Regions from separate parts of the Homo sapiens genome. Here region 2 is linked to region 1. Evidence: promoter capture Hi-C in 16 types of primary human blood cells and fetal thymus (Javierre and others, 2016). All regions are on one chromosome and are shown on one strand. The core of a region is centred on a gene start or on the middle of the fragment in contact, and the rest is flanking DNA. Distances in the headings are between cores, read along the strand shown.

Region 1 (5,528 bases), core at 883-3,382:
CCTGAATCCATGCCTGCAAGGCTCTGAGACAGCAAGCGCTGGGAATGCTCAAAAGGAGAAAGTAGGAGTGCAAACAGCCCAAGCCCAGCACTCACAGAACCTACTCCAGGCACTAAGAAATGAGACAGTGTCCACGGCTCTGATGTAGGAAGGACAAAGATGCCCTGAAAAAAAGGGGAAGGGCAGGACCCAGTCCAAGTCACTGGGGTGGATGTGACGGCCTTACCCAGAGAGGCCATAAGTGCAAAGTTCTCCAGCATCACATCACGGTACAGGAGCCTCTGAGCCTCATCAAGGAGCACCCACTCCTCCTGGGAGAAGTACACGAACACGTCCTCAAAGTTCACCTGCCCCTGCCACAATCAGGAGAGCCAAGTCCATGAGCAGCATCTCTCCCAAGAACCCCCATCCGTGCCCCCACACATCTCCCTCCTGTACACCCTCCTACCTAACTCCTCAACTCAGGAAATATCAGGACCAGATGTCATTGGTGTCTTCTCTCGCCTCATGGTCCCAATGGATCACTGTGTCTACCCATAGCAACCACAGGCAGGTGAAGAAGTTGTCACCCTCTAAGCTCTGTGCTTAGCATACAGGGCCTCACCCTTCTGTAAGCAAATTCCTCTGGGGTCACTAACATCATGCTTACCAGACAACCAAAGATGGGCTTGCCTTTCTCCTTTAAGCCCAGACGTCATCAGTCTACACTTCTTTCCATATGTACATCACTCTTTGGATCACAGTTATCTCACAACTCTGGCTCTCCACCATCACTTTCCTGGCTCACTAAATGCACTACCACTGTGAAATGAATATTCTCTTTTAACTCCCAATCTACATAATCATCTTTAAGCCATTTCAGGATGATTCCCGCCCCCTTGCTCTTGGTTCCCACCAGACATGACAGAGACCTGCAATTTCTTGAAAACTCCCTTCTCAGTCTCACCTCTAAGTATTTTGCACAGGCTGGTTCCTGTGCCTGGAACAACCTTCCAACCTTATTCCAATGGTTGGCAGAAATGGAAACCCCTCCATAAAACCCCTGGCCCGGAGTCAGGACCCTGGGCTTGGGGCTTCTCCAGAGTCCTCAGACCCAAGAGATCGGAGAGTAGCAGGAGAGTGTTCTATATAACACCACAATGCTGGAGAGCGTATTGGGTGGGGGTGGGATCGGTGAGAGCATGGACATTCTCCCCTCACCTGTATAGGGTCCACAATTACTTCTGAGTTCATGGGAACCTGTGGGGAAGAGGGAGACTATGCGAGTCAAGCAATCTTGAAGGAACCCCAAAGGCTCAACCCCATCCCATATTCCTACCCAGTTACAATGTGCCTGGGAGCTGAATGTCTACCCTCTGTGCTTCCATCTTCAAGGATACCTCTTAACTGTGTTAGCTCGGAACAGTGCTCATTATCCGCCCCCATGGCCAACAAGAGTCTGCCCTCCATGAGCAGTCTATGGAATACTTTTTAAACCCTCGGATTCTGGCTCTCCTCTGTTCAGAACCTTCCATGGCTCCCATCACCCTCAGAATAGAGACCCAGCTGCTCAGGATGATATTCCAGGTGCAATCACTTATAAAGCGCTCTGATCCTTTCAGACACTAAAGGCCCAGTTTTCCCAAATGCTCCAGCTGTGAACCATCTCTGAGCCTTTGCATACACTGGTCTCTCTGCCTGGAACGTCCTTCAACTCGTGCTGTCAAAATGGGTCCCAAACACGAGCGCCCCCACTGTTCTAGATACAGGGGCCTGAGCTGCAGTAACCCGAGGAATCGTTCATTCGAAGCTTTGGGATTCAGAGATGGGGGTCAGCGCGCAGACTCGCAGACGCAGCACCCACCTGTGCCGGGCCCATCGGCTCAGCCGCCGCCATCAGGCCTGTGGACTACGGAAGGGTGGCGACAAGTGCAGGAACCTGGGATCAGCTGTCCAGGGCCCAGCCCAGCGGCTAGGTCACTCAGGCAGCGCCACTGTCAAGCCTCAGGCCCACCTCTCTTCAGGGAAGAAGACACTCTCTCACGTTTTCCCTTTTCTGTCACCTCAGGTCTGACATTGCGTTCTGGAAACTAAACCAGTGGATTAATGGAAAAGCAAACAAAATGTCCACCCGAGGATGGTAGAGGAAGTCCCGCCCTGACGTTGGTGAGGACCAACGGAAACGCCTATTTCCTGGGTTTTCATTGGCCCAGAGCCGCCAAGTTTCCTGGGTAATGTAGTTCCCACGGCACCAACACTAGTAAGCGGCGTCTCGCTTCACCTCCAGGTTAAAAGCCCAGAGAAGACCGCCAGGGGCGCGTGGAAATGGTGTCCCTCGTCTCCAAGGCCCAGACGGAGCTTAGCTTCCTCTTGAAGGAGCCATATCTGTATTTCTGGTGAACGTCGTGTTTGACATCAAAGGAATGTTTAGAGACATGATTTCAGCCTTCCTTACGCAGAGAATGCTCATCAAAAAATAAAATGGACACACCATACACTGACGTCACTCAGATTTCTATGGCTGGAAGTTAACAAATATTGTTTTCAAATGCGTGTAGCCTGATGCTCCAGAGTTAGTTTGGCGAGCCTCAGCATTTTCTGTCAGGCACAAGAAAGAAAAGACTCCAGACACCATGATGTGGAACGTGGAGTGGGGATGTTTGGTGGCCTTGAAGTAAGTGAATAACCCTTCTGTCTGTTACCTCAGAAAATATTTATCCTGCTTATACAGCAGTGATTGTGTCAAACCCAACAAGTAATACTCTTGTTCAAGATAGTATTTCATACTCCATATACAGAGATGTATTCAATATTTTAAGTGTTTTACAAGTGTCTGAAAAGACAGAATTCATCAAATGTCATATGGCAATGAAAAGGGCAACATGAACACTTTCTGTAAAGAAGAAATAACCACCAAACTAGATGTCTATACACAACAAAATGTCTTTTATGGAAGTGTGATATAAAACTATTTGAAACCAAAAATGATAAATGTAATGGAAATACATTTACACAAAAAATAATGTTTAAAATAATACTCAAGGCCAAAGAAAGTTGATCTCAGGTGAAAAGTCTGCAATGAGAGAAGAAATGAAGATGAAAAGAAGTGCATCTTTTGATTAAAATAACAGCATATTACAGTGTAAAACATAAGTAGATATACTTATTGAGTTAGAATGATGGAATTCCCGTGCGTAACCTCAACTACATATAAATTGAAAGGAGGCTAGTTGCTCAAAGTTTTAAATTTTTTATATTTCCAAGTGGAAAGCAAATGTATTACAATCCTGTATGGCACGCTAATGTGTTAAACGTTTGTAATTTTTAGCCTAAATATAATAAATACAGTCAGCGTATATACTTTTCAAACTAGAAGAGGAAATGTTTGGAATATAAATAAATAATCAATAGAAAGGTAAAATAATAGTAAAATAAGTGGAAGAAGTGAGGCAAAGAAAAGCACAATGTAGGATATATTTAAACTGTCAACCTAAATAACAGAGATTCTTCAAAGATGTTGAGTTCATTCAGGAATGCACAGGGGATTTGCAAATCCAGGACATGCAGGCTATAGGGACTATAGGCATATCCAGAGAGCTTGAAACAAGGAGAAGCTTTCAAAGGCAAAAGGGAAAAGTATATATAATTTGTTTTGAGATAAAAAGAACATTGGTCACAGATGTTTATGGCAGAGGTTAACACCAGTTCATTAGTGGAGACAATCTGTCAGGCAAGTGTTCTACTACATCTAGAGCTGTCCTTGTAACTCCTGTAGCAAGCTGCGGTTTGAGAAGTTCTTGTCAAAACTTCTTTTAACGGGAATATGTGCATTAAGAGCCCTCAGAGACAGTAATAGCTCTTATCTTAAGCATGTGTGTTTGAGTGCCCTCTTTTCTCAGCCTCCTGGCTTTATTTATTTATTTACTTATTTATTTATTTTACACAAGTTACTCATTTTGGTTTTGACAACTTTTGCAAAACCTAAATGACTATGCAATAAATACTCAAATAAGCAGTTAGTAATTTTTGATGGACCAAAACACGCTTCACGAGGTATTCTCTTTTCTTCAGTGAATTTCCACAGAATTTGAATTGTGATTGAAAGCACAACTAACATTCCCAGACTCCCTACTCTGTCAGTAAGAAAAGAATCATGTTGTAGTTAGAAACGTCCAAAATCTGCTTTAGAGAAACCAAGACCTACGCTTGAAGGTTACCAGGCCCTTGACTCACCCAACTGGGCTGAGATGTCATCAGGGAACTGCATATCATCAGCATCTTCTGGTTATTCATACAGGGGTGGGATAAGGATGACAATAATTTACATTTAATAATGTCCATATCCTAGACATTCTATCAGACCTTTTATAAACACTACGCACTTTTGCCCTGTAAAGTGGATTTGTCACCTAAATTAATATGAGGAAACTGAGGTTTCTTGGGTCTATAATTTATTTTCAGCTGTAGCTGTTAAGTGGCATAGTTGGCAATGGAGTCCAAGGAGCCATGACTAACTACTTCCCAGCATGGCCTCCTACCCTAGGTCATCTATCTGGGTAGGTTCAGAGCCCTTTCTATGTTAGACAAACAAGGCTATGAAAAATTCAATGTCCCAGGCAGCTGACATGAGGACAAGAATGTGTCTTGCCTTTTCTTCACCACAGAAACATGAACCTTCAGCTTCATTTATTCCCTAAACGTGGGTTCCTTGGATGCCAATCAAGAATCAAAACAGGAAAAGTCCTGCTGGCCCACAAATACAGAGGGTTTGATAGGTGAAATGTTATTGCCTGAGCCTCACCGTATCATCCCAACCACCCACATATCCTGTTACCTCTGCCTCCTAATATGTCTCAGGTCATCTTCTTCTCAACACCTCCAATTTCATGCCCTTGGGCCAATCTGCCAACATTCCTGAGCTACACAATGCCTTCTGCCTTGTATCCTACATCAGTTTTTTCTCTACTTTAGTTCATTCTCCACATATCATGCAGAAGATGACTTCAACACAAATCAGGTTCTATTTGGGAGAATCAGAAGCATGTTGGTGGCTAGAGGGGGAAGGGCTTCCCTCCAAACTTTAGTGTTATAACATGGTTTAGGGTTATAACCTGTCCTGCATTTTCAGTGGTCCCACCAGTAATTTCTATGTTGTCTTTTTTGTCAGGCTCATTGCTACTGTCCAGCCCCTAGGATTTCTTCCTCAGCAGAGGACTCCTGTAATGCCCCTGACTCAATCCACATTCTCTTCCTCCTCTCTCCTTTACAGCAAGAACTAAAATCATTTCCTTGCAGACCTAGGCCAGCGAACAGGAGATTCACAACCATGTTATCGATTTGGTGCTGCCCTTCACACTTCATGGAACATGAAAGCTCAGTGAGGGTCTGAGTCCACTTCCCAGCAGAGAGAGCATAGCCATGTGCCATTTATGTGAGAGTGCAATCTTGGTACATTTAGAGTAACTGTTTAATCCAATATGCAGATGGATGGTGTTCAATTAGGAATTCTCAAAATTTTTTTAAAAAGAATTCTCAAATAAAAATCTCAT
Region 2 (6,192 bases), core at 3,518-6,017, 1.1 Mb after region 1:
ATTCTTCCAGCCAAACTTCAATCTAATGTTGAGGGCTAGACAATGTGTTTCAGATATGGGACATGTCAGAATTTTATCTTCCACACCAGAACACCCACAAAGCTCCACCAAAACAAAGGTGTGAACTAAGAAAGAGGAGACCCTGGGTCTCAGGAACAGGAAGGAACATAACAGAAGATGGGTTGTAGGAGGAGCCTGGATGATGCCAGACAAAGGTGGTGGCTGAGAGGTAGATGGCAGGGGGCCTCTGGTCCGTAATGCTTCGATGATTGGGCAGGATCCCTATCCTGTGTCAAGGTCCCTCCTGCCCACCTGCTCTGTCTACTAACCTGCTGTCCTTGTCAGGTCCCAGCCCTACCTGTCCTGATGCCTGACCAGCAGGATGCAAGCCCAGGAGGCCATCCAGGATACCAGGACTGGGAGAGAATGTGGGTACGGGGAATACTCGCCCTGCTTGCAAAAGGTTTTACTAGGGTGGGGAGTTTCTAGAAAGTAGAGGGGCTGTGGGATCAGTGGTAGTGGTGGGTGGCTTTTTTTGAGGGCAGAAGATGCTAGAGGAGGTTGAACCTTATAGGGGATGATCTAGGGAATGGGGGAACTTGGGGATGCTGGAGTAAGAGGGCTGCCTGCGTAGGGCCAGGAGTGGGGTCGGCAGAGATGGTGCTGTCCATGCGGAAGGCCTAGTCCCACCACACCCCATCTCACTTACCTGGGGAGAAGATGCCCCCAGCTTCCTCATGCCACAGGGCCCTGGGGTGCTCCCTCCATGAGGGACCCTCAGGCCCAGTCTTGCTGTGGGGAAAGATCTGGTCCAGCACGGTCCCACATCTCTGAAATCACAGTGGTCACTGCTCCTCTGTGCCTGGCTGGGCTCAGGGAGGGACCTACCTGACCCCACCCAGCAACTTCCAGGGAAAGGAGGAGAACATGGACCTGGGCAGGACTTACCTGGGCCTCCTCAGGCAGGAGGGTGGGTACAGACTCCTGGGTGGCAGCTAGAGGCCCAGACTCCAGGAAATCTAGAGAGGAAAACTGGTATCAGGCAGCCTGAGTGAGTTTCCACCCCACTGCCCTTCTTAGTGGTGTGCCAGGTGCTGGGATGCAGAGAGGTGGGATTCTTGGTTGTGGGCTTGGGTTGGGGAGGGCAGTGCAGGGTAGCTGAGGGCCCAGCTCAGGGGCTGGGTGAAGCAGAGTACCCTGGAAGGCCAGGGGTTGAGCTGCAGTGGGATGAGATGGGCTGAGGTTTGTGCCCCTGTAGCCGTATGTGAACCATGGGGCAAGGTGGTCAGCGGGGGTCAGAGGTATTGTACAAGGGTCCACATAGGAATGGCAGGGTGTGAGCAGCTAGTTCAGGTGCCCTGCCTGGGAGGTGAAAGGGGTCATACCCCTAACACTACGAGGTCCTCCCTCAGCAGCTCCTAATTATACCTCTGCCTGCTGTCTGTTCCCCAGTGACAAGCACATATTGCCTAACGCATCTCCTTGGGGACTGAACACCACATGCCATCTGTACTGGGAAACCCCAACAGCCTGCTCCATGCCATGGGGTTCGTGGGTACAGGGCTGTGGCAGTCAGGCTTGGTGTGTGAGGGGTAGTGACAGCACTGGCTGCGGTGGAGGGGAGACCTGACTGGGTAGAATGTGGGGGCTGCTGGCAGATGGAAACCATTCCATTTATAACAAACCTGGCCCAGTGGACTTCAGACTGACTGCTCAGGCCAGGTTCCCTGGCCCACCCAACCAGACCTTAGGCGCGCCCACCGTGCATGCCCTCACCTGAGTCCTCTGTAACCTCTGACTCCTCTTTCACCTGCAGGCCCAGTGGTGATTCCTGCATAGTCCTAGGAGGTGTCTTGGGCCCAGGCTCTGGAGTTGGAGGCTCAGTTTCAGGTAGGGGCTGGAAACTGGAGGGCTCCATCTTCTCTGATAGGACCTCCTGGCCCTGCACCTGGACTGTGACCTGGGGAGGTGCCCCCACCATCAGAAGTCCTACCAGAGAGTAAGGCTGGCCGCAACCTGGGGTTTGTGGGTGCCCATCCCACTGTAGGATCCCAGGGGCCTGCCTTGTAAATACCTACTGACTAGGTCCTCCAAGGACCTACCTCCCCTAGGCCCTGAGCAAAGAATGAAGGGACCACCTGCAGTCCCTCCCCTGCTCTGACATCGTGGCCTTCCAGTACCTTCCCCATATTCCCCTAGCCTGCAGCTCCTATGTCCACGTGACTGCAGGTGATGCAGGAATGGGCTGGGGAGTCTGGCCCTGGAATCCCTCTGCCCTGGGCAGCCTTGCACAGGGTCTCTGTTGCAGGTGGCCACTTCTGTACCACAAGGGAGAACGTGTGTCTGGCAAAGCGTGGTGCTGCCCAGGGTGAGGCCGAGCTGGATGATGCTCCAGTCCTGAACCCCACTCGTGGACACTCACTCACCCATCTCCGGGGTCCGCCCGGCTCCCGGCGCAGCCCATCTACTAGGGCAGCAGCCTCCTCGGGGCTGCCTGGCCGCTGCCCCTGCACACGGGCCTGGATCTCAGGGGGCAGTGCGCCCAGGAACTGCTCCAGCACCAACAGCTCCAGCATCTGCTCCTTGGAGCGTACCTCTGGACGCAGCCACTGGCGACACAGCTCTCGGAGCTGGGCCAGGGCCTCTTGGGGCCCTGTGGCCTCCTCATAGCGGAAGCACCGGAAACGCAGGCGTGCAGCTTCAGGGCCTGGGTCCCATAAGGCAGCCTCACCCTCCTCCTCAGAGTCCTCTAGCTTCACCATGACAGGCCCCTCATCTTCTGGGGGTGCTCGGTCTGGGGAGCCCAGCACCGCAGGCCTCATAGAGGGTACCAGGTCAGGTATCTGAGGCCAGTGTCTGCCCCTGGTGAAGAAATAGGATGAGGCTGTTGCAAAAGGAGTACAGTGAATGCTTCACTGCCTAGTCTATGCTGTACCGTTTGATCCTCAGACCTACCCCATGTGGAAGGCAGATGAGGAAACAGGCAAAGAAAGGCCATCTACAACCCACAGACTTATGCAGCTGGAAGCCCTCCCTTAGCCACCTGTATCCCTGGTCTTCTCTCCGCTTGGGCCTGTGCAAAGTCTCTGACAGTCTCCCTGCTCCAAACACAGGCTTTTTTTTCTTTTCTTTGAGACATGCTGTCAGTCAGTTGCCCAGGCTGAAGTGCAGTGGCGAGATCATGCGTCACTGCAGACTTGACCTCCCGGGCTCCAGAGATCGGCCTCCCAAGTAGCTGAGACAACAGGTGTGTGCCACGACATCCGGCTAATTTCTTAATTTTTCTGTAGGGATGGGATCTTACTATGTTGCCTAGGCTGTTCTTGAACTCCTGGGCTCAAGCAGATGATCCTCTTACCTTGACCTCCCGAAGTGCTGGGACTTACAGGTTTGTTCCACCATGCCAGCCCACAGGCTGTTTTTTAGGACTAGAAGACACTTCTCTCCCCTGTATCCTTCCCTTCTTCTACATGTGCAACCTCATTCCTGCGCTACAGCTCTCTCTTTACCAGGTGGATGGCACCTATACACCTACAGCCTGGGCATCAGCATCACTGCTGGCGTCTCCCCCTACCCAACGCCAGCCCTTACTTCACCTTCTATTCTCTCATCTACTTCGATGTGGCTCCTCATTTGGGCCCCACCATCATTCCCCTCCCTGCTTGGAAGCCTCACTCCACCTAATCCTCCATGTCAACCTGTGCAGTCACTTGTATGGCTCAGCTCCCAGGCAGCACCCTCTCTCCCTACTCAGCCCCATCTTCTAAGCCCAACATCACACTACGCAATGCCCCATCTCAGCTTCCTGATTTAGCTGGGGTTGGAAGGGGATGGGGGAGCTTCGCAATGGGTGGGGGGGCGGCAAAGGCTCCAAGACTGCCGGAACAGGAGCCTGCAAGGAAGTCCCGAGACTCTGATTCCGCCCATCTTCAGATCACTGTGCCTTCGAGAACTTGTTTCCCCATTTGCAAGTGGGGCTGACCTCCCTCCTCGCGCTGTTCCTTCTGCAGCTGCGGCTTTAGGAAGGAATCTGCGTTTATGAAGGGGATGGCACCGCAGAATCATTCCCCCGTGGGTGGCATCGATTTCGAGGGCCGCCTCATCCTGGGGGCCAAGCCTCCACTCTTCAAGGTGCCAAGTCAACCTGAAACCCTGGGAGAGACTTGGGTCATAGCCAAGATGGCAGGTACCTACGGAGGGTCCCGAAATACACTTCCCAGAAGTCCAGGCGGCAACTTCCGCTCCAGGGTGCCAAGGTAGGTCCAGACGACGCCTAGGCAACCGGGGGCGGGGCTCCCAAAGCCTGTCGTCGTGGCAACGAGTAGTGATTGACAAGCCTCTCGCTCTAGCCCTGGGCGCTCCCGCAAGGACTGCCCGGATTCGTTCCCCGCGCTTCCGGTCTCACTGGGGAGCCGGAATCCCCGAGTCTGCAGCCACCGCCCCCGTCCACACGATAGCCCTCCCGGTTAAGAGGACCCCGCCCTCACCTCTGCGCTCAGCGGGCCGCTCCGCGCTCCTGAGCACGCGCAGTCTTCGACTTCCCCCTCCCGCTGGACTACGTCTCCCAGGATGCTCCGCGCACCAGCTCGAGCGCCTCCTTGCCCTTCCCCCACCCTCGTCCCCGTTTCTACACCCTCTCCTCCCTTCCCCTAGCGGTGGTCGCAATGATCAGGTCATACTCCTGGCCGCTTCTTCCCATGCTCCCCGCCTCGAATCCGTGCGTCGGCATGCGCAAGCCTCTCAGGTACAACAGACGGCAGCACCGCCTACCAGATCGCGCATGCCCCCCACCACGTTTTCCTCACTTCTCTACGGGCCTTCCTGAGATTAGCAGGATCCTGCACCAATCACGGCCGTCATTAGAACTCCGTCGGTGCCCCACCGCGTCTCCATGGCAACTCCCTACAGGAAGGGGCCTCTGCTACTTCCTAGACCGCAAAATGGAGAAAGGCTTGGCCCGATGCTTTCCGGCAGATGTAGTCAGCAGGCCCTTCGTGTGTACGTGCGCGCGCGGCGCGATGACGTTCCTCTGTGATCATGGGCGAGGGGCGGGCCCTGAACGTCTCCATGGTAACCTGGGGACACGACTCGACATCGCCTGGGTAACCCGGAGACGCGGCGGGCGTTGAAAATGCAATGGGGCATGTGGGATGAAGAGGTGGGGAAGGGTACTGGGGCAGAGAGATGCCGATCGATAGAAACAGCGAGGAGAGACGGAGAGAGACCAGAGACTCAAGGGCAAAGAGAGACGAAGGACCGGCGGGAGGAAGAGAGAGAGAGACAGAGAGACAGACTCACAGACTGGGAGGACCGGAGACTCGACGCGAGGAGAGACAGTGAAAATAAGTGAACAAACATAGAGACACGGGTCCAAGTTATAAGAGGGCTGAGTGGATCAGAGGGTCAGGGCCGGGCAAACAGGTGTCAGAACAGTTAGCAAGAGAGAGGCAGATCAGAAAGGGATGCAGATGAAAGAGACACAAAGAAGGAAACGCAGAATGGGTTCACAGAGACAAGAAATGCAGATATCCAGACTCAAGAGGTAGACAAGAAGGGAGAGGGACAGAAACAAGAAGGGAGAAAAGGGACAGAAATTAGAGATACAGTAAGATGGATTGACAGTTTTCGAAGACCTAGAGAAAGATGACAGCACGAAGAGAGACAGGGAGAATCCGAGGTAAAACTGTTAGGAAAACTTAGGAGTCCAGATGCTGTCCAGTTATATGCTACCCTGTACAGGTTGATAGGTTGCAAATGCTTTCTGTCCAGTGTATCGCTTTGTAGCTCACTAAGCAGTTTTGTATCCAACTTTGTGCTTTTATTTCAGTGTTTTTCTTTTTCTTTCTTTCTTTTTTTTTTTTTTTTTTTTGACGGAGTCTCGCTGTTGCCAGACTGGAGTGCAGTGGCACGATCTCGGCTCACTGCAACCTCCGTCTCCCAGGTTCAAGCGATTCTCCTGCCTCAGCCTCCCGAGTAGCTGGGACTGCAGGCTGCTCCACCACACCCGGCTGATTTTTGTATTTTTAGTAGAGATGGGGTTTTACCATGTTGGCCAGACTGGTCTTGACCTCCAGACCTCTGGTGATCCGCCCACCTCGGCCTCCCAAATTGCTGGAATTACAGGTGTGAGCCACCGCGGCCGGCCAGTGTTTATTCTTCCTTTCCTGTCTTCCTAGAATCATCTTGCTGCTT

The links. Contacts are between HindIII fragments. The CHiCAGO score rates a contact against its expected background, and 5 or more counts as called.
Region 2: the fragment with the promoter of MZF1 here is called in contact with the fragment with the promoter of ZNF772 in region 1 in 1 of 17 cell types (naive B cells); the score reaches 5.0 in naive B cells.

What each region holds. Positions count from the first base shown.
Region 1 is chr19:57,475,434-57,480,961 of GRCh38, forward strand. It overlaps ZNF772 (zinc finger protein 772), which reads right to left and starts at 2,133. Exons shown (of 4, transcript NM_001144068.2): 1 at 1,844-2,133; 2 at 1,201-1,239; 3 at 227-353. The coding sequence starts at 1,876. RefSeq lists enhancers at 1,334-1,857, 1,448-2,647. The HindIII fragment of the contact is 1,804 bases long and covers 1,788-3,591 here.
Region 2 is chr19:58,568,568-58,574,759 of GRCh38, forward strand. MZF1 (myeloid zinc finger 1) reads right to left here and starts at 4,768. Exons shown (of 6, transcript NM_198055.2): 1 at 4,488-4,768; 2 at 2,427-2,862; 3 at 1,777-1,960; 4 at 949-1,019; 5 at 710-830. The coding sequence starts at 2,822. MZF1-AS1 (MZF1 antisense RNA 1) reads left to right here. Exons shown (of 6, transcript NR_027334.2): 2 at 346-428; 3 at 1,817-1,890; 4 at 3,291-3,388; 5 at 4,011-4,256; 6 at 4,350-6,192. RefSeq lists enhancers at 3,473-4,334, 4,335-5,194, 4,563-4,652, 4,713-5,142. The HindIII fragment of the contact is 12,442 bases long and covers 1-6,192 here.